2 separate regions of the Homo sapiens genome follow, and region 2 is linked to region 1. Evidence: promoter capture Hi-C in human tissues and cell types (Jung and others, 2019). All regions are on one chromosome and are shown on one strand. Each heading gives the region's core, a stretch centred on a gene start or on the middle of the fragment in contact. The rest is flanking DNA. Distances are from core to core; before and after follow the strand shown. Region 1 holds the start of GDNF (glial cell derived neurotrophic factor). Region 2 has its middle 7.6 kb from the start of LINC02117.

What was found. The method cuts DNA at HindIII sites, captures the fragments that hold promoters and counts their contacts. A contact is called where the count stands out against the background at its distance.
Region 2: a fragment that was not itself captured here is called in contact with the fragment with the promoter of GDNF in region 1 in 2 of the 25 tissues and cell types used here (dorsolateral prefrontal cortex and mesenchymal stem cells).

Annotation. Positions count from the first base shown.
Region 1 is chr5:37,838,179-37,842,681 of GRCh38, forward strand. It overlaps GDNF (glial cell derived neurotrophic factor), which reads right to left and starts at 1,863. Exons shown (of 3, transcript NM_000514.4): 1 at 1,329-1,863. It overlaps GDNF-AS1 (GDNF antisense RNA 1), which reads left to right and starts at 1,706. Exons shown (of 4, transcript NR_145476.1): 1 at 1,706-1,860. RefSeq lists an enhancer at 787-1,724. The HindIII fragment of the contact is 15,271 bases long and covers 1-4,503 here.
Region 2 is chr5:37,911,095-37,915,597 of GRCh38, forward strand. No RefSeq gene overlaps it. Among named protein-coding and RNA genes, the nearest start is that of LINC02117, 7.6 kb to the right of the region's middle. The HindIII fragment of the contact is 5,293 bases long and covers 1-4,503 here.

The DNA.
Region 1 (4,503 bases), core at 613-3,112:
CTGGGAAAGCGGTCTGTTTAAAGGGCCAGGTTCCAGGCCCGAGAGCACCCGAATTGCTAGCGGGAAAGGGCTAGGGACACGGCGGACTTCCCAGAGATCGGACACTTGTTACTTGTTGAAAAGGCGCCACCTTCCCTGACAAAGCGAAGGCGCAGCGAAACAGTACGAGTTTGGTCGAGGCCGGCTTTGACGGCTTTGCGGGACTGGGTGCGTGAATGAGGTTGGAAGAAACATCTCTTCCTTGAAATACCTAAGCATATATTCCAAACACTGAGCAAGAGTCGAGCGCGTTCTAACATCTCCGCAGCAGGGGCCGGAAGAGTTGCCTTTGTCCCCGCCTATGAGCAGAAGGGTCGCGAGCTCTGGGATGGGTAAGCCCCCCGGGGGCGCGCACATGGGTCCTGGCGGCGGATTCTACCAAAGCCGAAACTAGCTGGGCCCCAGGAAGCTGGCGGGAACCCGCGAAAGTCCGTTTCCAGCCCGAAGAGGGTTCGTTTTTCTTCGTTGGGGCAGGAAACAAACCACCAGTGCGGAATTAGCCTCGAGGTGGTGTAAAGTAGTGGCAGTGGTGGTGGGGTGTTTTTGGAAGGCGGCACAGAGTACAGGAGAAAAAGGGGTCATTAAAATAATAACCTCAATGGCCTAGTGGAGTCTCAAGAATACGTTCGAGACAGAGATTTGAATCCAGGACTGGCAAGAAAGCCCCTCTCCTAACCTCGACGGGGATGGTTAGTTGGGGTGGAGGGCGTTAGGAACGTGCAGGCAACCGGGTGAGGAATGTAGCTTTGCCAGACCTCGCCCGGAGGAGGTGAGCCCTCCATTTTTAGGTTCTCAGCACCTTTGCAGCAGCCCCTCCCCCGGCCTGCGCTTTTCCTTGGCACAGATCAAAACAAGCTCAATAGTAAGTTGCACTCTTGGCAATGATAGTATCTCTGCACGTCCAGAGAGGACACATTTCGACGGCGGTGGGTTCGAAGATGACCCAAGCCCTGAATCGTTCTGTGACTTGACGGAAGAGCACCTGGCCGAGTCGGGGAAGGAAACTGCCCCTCTTGGGCATTCCGGGTCCAGGCGCATCTGGGGCTCCACAGATCTTTGCCCACGTGGAAAAGGCAACATGCCCCTCCGAAAGGCCGGCCTCTCTCCGGTTCTACTTTTCTCTCTCCTCGCATAGCTTAGGTTCCCTCTAGTCTTTCCACTTTCTACTCTCACCGTTTGCTCTGGGGTCCAGACGCACCCCTCTGACTAGGGCGCCCTTCAGCCGGCCGCACCCACCCGCGACGCAGGCACCACCCGCTCCCTGCTCCCCGGCCCGCTCCCTCACTTACCTCGGATCGGGTCTCCGCAGACCCTAGGTTGGACATTAACTCCAGGTGCCCCAAGTCCCAGCCAGGAGACCCATCCGGGCTGATGGCTGGAGCGCGGAGCCCCGCCCAACAGGTCAGGGGCAAGAGTTCGCAATCCTGGGGTCGCGCGGGGCAGCAAGGGCGCGCTGGAGGCGGCGGCCAAGACTCCCGCCGCCGCCGCCGCCAACAGGGCGAGGGCTGCCGGCAACTCTCCCGCCGGGCCCCCGCACCCCCAGAAGCCGAGGTCCGAGCAGCCGCCGCTGCTTTGGGTGGGGGGCTGACAGGGCTGCGCGCGTCGCGCTCTTGGCTGGGGCTGCGCGGGCCCGGGGCGCTGCGGGCGGCTCAGCGGCAGCTGCCGCGCTCTGCGCCTCCTCTGGGCGCACTGCCTGGGAGCACGAGACTGGTTTGTCTGATGCTGCTGCCGGAGCTGAGGTCTTGCCTGGAGATCCGAACGAGACACCACGTCAACCGGCGCGGGGAGTCCCGTGAAGACATGAGGGCGCCAGGAGCGCAGGCTGGTCTTCTAGAGCCCGGGCTGGGGGTCCGGGGTCCGGGGTGGGGGAGGGGAGGCGCGGGGCCCCGGGAGGGAGGGGTCGGGAGGCGTCGGCTGGGCCTGGCGGTGGGGGAGGAGAGGAGAGCAGCGAGGAGGCCCTGGAGTTCCCGAGGCGGGGGGCCGGGGTGCGAGTGGGCGACGCGAGGCGCCCCTCCCTGGGCTGCAGGGAGAGCGCTGAGAGCGCGGAGACGCCGCGGGGCTAGCGCCTTCTCCTCTCCGGGTGGATCAAAAATCGAGAGGAATGTGCGGCGCTCTGCGCGGGCCAGCCGAAAGGGGCAATCCGAACTTGACCGCGGCGCCCGCGCCGGGCTTTGCCCCCGCGCGCCGCACTGGGAGGGTGGCGCTCTGCCGGTGCAGGGCAGCGCCGGGCTTTCCTCGCGCCTGTCGAAGGCCGGCCTTCCCGCTCGGGTGTCTCGCCCTCTCGCTTCTCCGCAGGGCAGGAGGCAGTGGCGAGAAAAGGAGCTGCCGGCCGGAGTTCTAGCACCGAGAAGGAGAGGTGCGGAGCGGCCGGGTGAGGGAAGCCGAGTATTTGCCAGGGGACGCTGCGAGTGGGGATGAATTTATAGGGCTCTCACTCCGTGACGTGCCCTCCAGTGGCTTTTCTGATTCGCTTTCTGACCTAAACACACATTAGTTTAGTCCCCATGCTAAGGCCAACACGGTCTCCAAATATCTGCTGGCTGAAGTCAGAGGCTTTGCATATCATGTATTACATGGCAGGCAATGAAGAAGGCTTCTGAGGCTGGCCGGCTCCTCAGTCCTAGGCTCCATTTTCATGCTGTTGTAATCTAATACCAGACATGGGGCAGGCACATACATTCAAAATCCCAATTCCAGAGGCGTAAGATCACTTTATCAGGAACGGGTTAGGGGAGGTTGAGCTAAACCTGCTTTTATCCAGATTTTCGAAAATGCAGATGGGAAACTTCAGCAAGCGCCCACTTGGATGCTGAGTTTCCAGCGATCAGGGGCCCGGCCCCCATTCCAGAGCTCTGTGGATGGGAGAGGTGAGACCTTCTGGGCATTCCTTTTGTTGGTTAGTTCACCACCAGAAGCTGCCTGAGCCTTCTTTTGTAGAGGACAGGAGGAGGGCAAGTCCTTACACACCCTGTGCATGGCTATAACCATAAATACATTTCATTCACATGGGGCATGGAATTGGCTGTACCTCTAAAATAATGTACTAAATAGGGCATGTCTTTGCTAAGCAGAAACCTGTTTTCCGGAAGCCATTGGACCTGAATTCAGTGGGACCTCTTTTATTTTATTAGCTGGGGCCAGGGAAAGTGTAAACAGGCTCAGTTTACGTCCATGTACCTCTTATTTTATGACTCATCCGGTTGTTGGGGAGTATGTGTTCTTCAAGTAGCTGATACAGACAATAGGCAGGGGAAATGCGTGTGGCAGTGTGGGGGGAAGATCATGTATTATTAAACTTCTTAAAAGTCAAAGATCAGCTACTTTGCAGGTTTGTCAGTGAAGCGAGTGTGGGAGGAAAATTGTTCTTACTAACGTTGCTGTGATTTAAGATTAAGCGAAGTGAAAATCGAGTCATCAAAACATACCTTAGCTGAAATTAGGATGCTCTCTGGAGTTCTGCAGAAAATGACATTTCCCTCTTTGATAGATTTATGGTAGAAATGTAGTTAGATTCAGAAATTAGAGGGCAGAATAAGCTTAATATATTTATTGCCGTTTAGCATTGTTTTTGGAATTTGAAGACGACCCTCATCAATGTTCTTACTCTGAATGATTTCTTTATTTTTAGAGGGCTTTTTGCTGGGGATGATCAGCCCGTCCAAGCACCTGCAAATATCTAGCACTTGCTGTGTGCCAGGCAAAGTGCTAGGCCCTGGGCATTGTGCTGATTGGGCTTTTTTTTTGGGCGGGGGGCGGGGGTTGCAAGGAACAGATACCACTGAGGTTTACCCTCAGTAATGGGAATTTACTGTGGAAGGAAGGCTGACCGGAATCTCCACCATTCCGCCACGTGTCTCCGAAAAGCCTTCCGGAAAGGCCACCCAGCCAGGCCTCATGAAAACTGGATTGAAGTTCAGGAACTGGAAGGTCATTCAGGATACAGCTCTGTGACTGGGTTATCTCGCTGCCCCCTCAGCAGCAGGCATCTGCCGATCCCCACTAACGGCTTAGCCGCCAAGGTGATTCAGCTCCTCTCTCGCTGTTTTCCCCTGGGTGTCCTTTGGCTTCTGCTCCTGCTACCAACTGCTCAGCTCTCAGTTGATCTCACATTTAAACTCCTTTAGTGAAAGGATCTAGTTTGTCCTGCTAGGGATTCACCAGGGGTGAGAGTTGGACTGAGCCTTTGTATCAGTCTCCTTACAGGTTGCAAAACACCCTGTATATCCGCAGACCTGGGGGCAGGTGCCTATCCTGGGCCAATCATTCATGTCCAGGTTGTTGGCATCACAGAGTACACAGCCTGGCCACCTTTGCTTGAGATACTTCCTAGAGTTCCTCCCCACATTCCCTCCACAGAGGATGGTCCCTCAGAAGGAGGTGGGTTAATGGTAGGCACTTTGGGTTTTGACAGTCCTCTCCCAGCCCTTCAGAAACTACCACTACAGAGAGGGAGATATGCTCATG
Region 2 (4,503 bases), core at 651-3,150, 73 kb after region 1:
ATCCACACACCTACAGTGAACTCATTTTTCACAAAGGTGCCAAGAACATACACTGGGGAAAAGACAGTTTCTTCAATAAATAGCGCTGGGAAAATGGAATATCCATATGCAGAAGAATGAAACTAGACCCCTATCTCTCACCATATACAAAAAAATCAAAATGGATTAAATAATTAAATCTAAGACCTCAAACTATGAAACTACTACAAGAAAATATTGGGGAAACTCACCAGGACATTGGTCTGGGCAAAGATTTCTTGAGCAATATCCCAAAAGCATAGGGAACCAAAGCAAAAATGGATAAAAGGGATCATATCATGTTAAAAAAAAAAAAAACTCTGCACTTCAAAGAAAACAATCAACAAAGTGAGGAGACAACCCACAGAATGGGAGAAAATGTTTGCAAACTACCCATCAGACAAGGATTAGTAACCAGGATATATAAGGAGCTCAAACAACTCTGTAGGAAAAAATCTTAATAATCTGATTAAAAAATTGGCAAAAGATTTGAATAGACATTTCTCAAAAGACATGCAAATAGCAAACAGGCATATGAAAAGGTGCTGAACATCACTGATCATCAGAGAAATGCTAATAAAAACTACAATGAGATATCATCTCACCCCATTTAAAATGGCTTTTACCAAAAGGCAGAGAATAACAAATGCTGGTGAGGATGTGGAGAGAAGGGAACTCTCATACACTGTTGGCGGGAATGTGAATTAGTACAACCACTATGGAGAACAGTTTGGAGATTCCTCAAAAAACTAAAAACAGCTACCATACGATCCAGCAAACCTACTGCTGTCTATATACCCAAAAGAAATCAATATATTGAAGAGAGATTTGCACTCCCATGTTTGTTGCAACACTGTTCATAATAGCCAAGATTTGGAAGCAACCTAAGTGTCCATCCACAGGTGAATGGATAAAGAAAATATACTTATGCACAATGGAATACATTCAGCTATAATAAAAGAAGGATATTCAGTCTTTGCAACAACATGGATGGAAGTGGAGATCATTATATTAAGTGAAAAAGCCAGGCACAGAAAGACAAATGTCGCGTGTTCTCACTTATTTGTGGCATCTAAAAATCAAAATTGAACCCATGGAGATAGAGAGTAGAAGGATGGTTACCAGAGGCTGGGCAGGGTAGTTGGGAGGGTGGGGAGGATGGTTAATGGGTACAAAAAAATTGAATGAATAAGGCCTAGTATTAGATAGCACCACAGGGTGACTGGTCAAAAATTTAATTGTACATTTAAAAATAAAAGGGTATAATTGGATTGTTTGTAACACAAAGGATAAAGACTTAAGGGAATGGATAGCTCATCTTTCATGATGTGATTATTAGACATTGCGGTTCTGTATCAAAACGTCTCACGTATACCATAAATATACACCTACTATATACCCACAAAAATTAAAAATTTAAAAACCACAAAAAGGAGTGAGCAAAATCCCTGCAAAAAATAAAATACTTGAATAGGCTGATGATTTTACATCCTCTCTCCTGATTAAAAAAAAAAAAATCCGTGCTCTTGTACCCCTTCAGTTTTTCTTTTTGTTTTGGTGTTTCCTTTCTATTAACCTCCTGAAATTTTTTGAGTCAGCAGCTTTTGCAGTGCCTGTAGTCTTTTTGCTTACGGGTGAGTTTTGGTGACTTAAAGACTATCAAGAAGATATTTAAAGCTTCTGTCAATTCCTTTGAAAATAACAGAATTTAAAAAGTGGAATTTCCCTCTGTAAGTGGCTACTTTCTAGAGGAAACCTAACCTCTGGGGATCTTTGCCAAGAATAAATGGAGGGCGTATTATTTGCTGACCATTATCCTTGAGTTCAGATAGCCTCCTCCTGTCTCCTGGCCCCAAGGTATAAATAGAGACACAGAGGAGACTGGCAGAGATCTTGCTGACAGCCCTTCCAAACTTCCAGAAAGGATGACTCTGCCTATAGGAGTCTGTCTCATGGGTGGGCAGCTCTCCTGTTGACAAAGATGCCTTTTCAGAACAGTGGCCCCTATGGCTCCCCCGGCATCTGTGCATCTGTCCATCCACCTGTTTCCTTGTAGGCATTTTTTTAGGTGCTATAGATGAGAAAATGAGCAAGATCTGGCTTTTACCTTCCAGGAGTTCCAGTTTACTTGAGACAGATGCATAAATAGATGACAATATGACACTAAGTCTTTGGAGAGTATGCATGAAGGCCATGGGAACAAAGGGGAAGGGGCTGTAGGCACTACCTGGGGGAGTCCAGGGAGGCCTCACGGAGGAGGGGGCGTTTGAGCTGGACCCTGAGGAATAAGAAGGCGCTTATCAGATGGGACCGGCATAGGCAAGAGACCAGATTTGCTAAACCAGCTATAGTACGTATTTGGAAAAGGGTTAACAAGTGGATGTAATTGATTCATTCTACCATCTATTTCCATACAGTTCGTAACTTCTGTCATTGGATGAGAAGAGATAAGGACAACAGAGAATCCCGTTCCCTGTCTAGCTTGGCAGCACTGCCCTTCTTGTTGAAAGCATTGATTTATTTGCCTTCCCCATCTGGCCTTCCAGGCTGAAGCACTGAACATTTCTACTCCATTTTTTTTTAATGTACGTTATTCTTTTGGAAAACTGTTTTGGGGAATTTGAAAGACAAAGCTTCCACTTCATTTGTTTTCCTTAATCAAAAGCCTCTGCTGTCACTGGCAGTTCCACATTTCTTCCTCTCCAGCTTCCCCCAGAGGCACACTTGGAGATGGGAGATGGGCTGGAAATGTCTCTCGTGCAATCCATGGAGACTGCGATTGCCTCCGGAGCCTGTTCTGACTCCTTTAGTGGCCTTGCCCCTTGAGGTGCATCAGGATGAACCCTTGTCTTGGCTTTGCTCTTTGGGAAGATTTTTTTGTAAACGTGTTCTCTTTGGAAGGACAGACATTTTCTGGGCTTTTTTTTTTTTTTTCCTTGGACCGCCAGCCCACGCCATCCATTCTCCATCCACGATGCATTGTTTTCCATTGTGTTCTCTCTGTTCCTTTGGATCCCTGATCTGGTGTCAATGTGCGAGTAGGGAGTGGGGTGGGGGGCAGAGGGAGAGGAGGGGGTTGTTCAGGATTGAGGGCCAGGACAGTAAGAAAATATAGACTTATAATGAGAGTTTTGATGCCACTGACCACTAATTGTCAGTCTTCTTGGTAGGTACCCTTACTGTTAATAACTCAAAAGATCAGGCAGTTAAACATTATTTGATTTTAAAATACTTTTTTTTTTTGAGACAGAGTCTCACTCTGTTGCCCAAACTGGAGTACAGTGGCGTGATCTCAGCTTACTGAAACCTCTGCCTCCCAGGTTCAAGTGATTCTTGTGCCCCAGCCTCCTGAGTAGATGAGATTACAGGCATGTACCATCACACTCAGCTAATTTTTGGATTTTTAGTAGAGATGGGGTTTCATTGTGTTGGTCAGCCTGGCCTGGAACCCTGACCTCAAGTGATCCACCTGCCTCGGCCTCCCAAAGTGCTGGGATTACAGGCGTGAGCCACCACGCCCAGCTGATTTTAGAATACATTTCTTAATTGACCTTTGATTGCTTTATTGTTTTGTCAGGAACCATGAGAAATTTCAGGGTTTTAAAGAACATTTGTTCTGCTGCATTATTGTGAGGTGAGAGAATCAGGACGCTGAAGTCAGGTGTGAGAGCTGGGAAAGGCTGGCACTGCCTATGAACCTGACCATCCCACACAGAGGCTTTATTTTGGGCAAATCATTTCGCCCAGCCTTGTTTTGCTTAGGCATTCCTTATCAAGATATTTACCAGCCGTTTGGTTAGTTGCAAGCAACAACAGCCATGCTGCCATTCTTATGAAAACACACCCTCAGGCCCTACAGGTAGCTTCCTTACTGGGTGCCAAAGTGAAAATCCTATGACACAGCTCCCCTATTTTAGTGGATAGAGAATGTCAGGGGGATGAATGAGCCCAGAGGCCATCTGTTCTAACCCTCTGACATCCAGATTGTTCAATAGCTTTTCTGACGATGTATGCCACATGGCAGAAGTAGGACTAGAACCCTGGACTTGTTCATTTTTAGCCCTGTGCTATTTCTTCTTCACTGAGCCACTTTCTGTGTATTTGAGTGTTCCTTTAACAACCACAAAGTGATTGGGTTGATTCTAACCACATTATTTGAATTTCTGGTGCAGTGGTTCTCAACCCTGGCTACGCATTAGAATCAGCAGGGGAGCATTTCAAACATACCCACGCCCAGGTCTCACTTCAGAACCTGAGTCGCTGGGTGTGGGGCCCCAGTATGAATATCTTAAAGAACTTTGTGATCTAATTCTAAAATGCAGAAAGGATTAAGAACCCTTGTTCCAGTGTGGAGGAGGAAATAGATCCTTTCCTAAGAATTCTTAATTTGCTGACTGGACAACAGAGTTTGCTAATGCAAACCTAATGTCATTCTTTGACCTGAGAAGATAGTTCTCTCCAGGGGCATGTTAAAGTCTAAAGCAA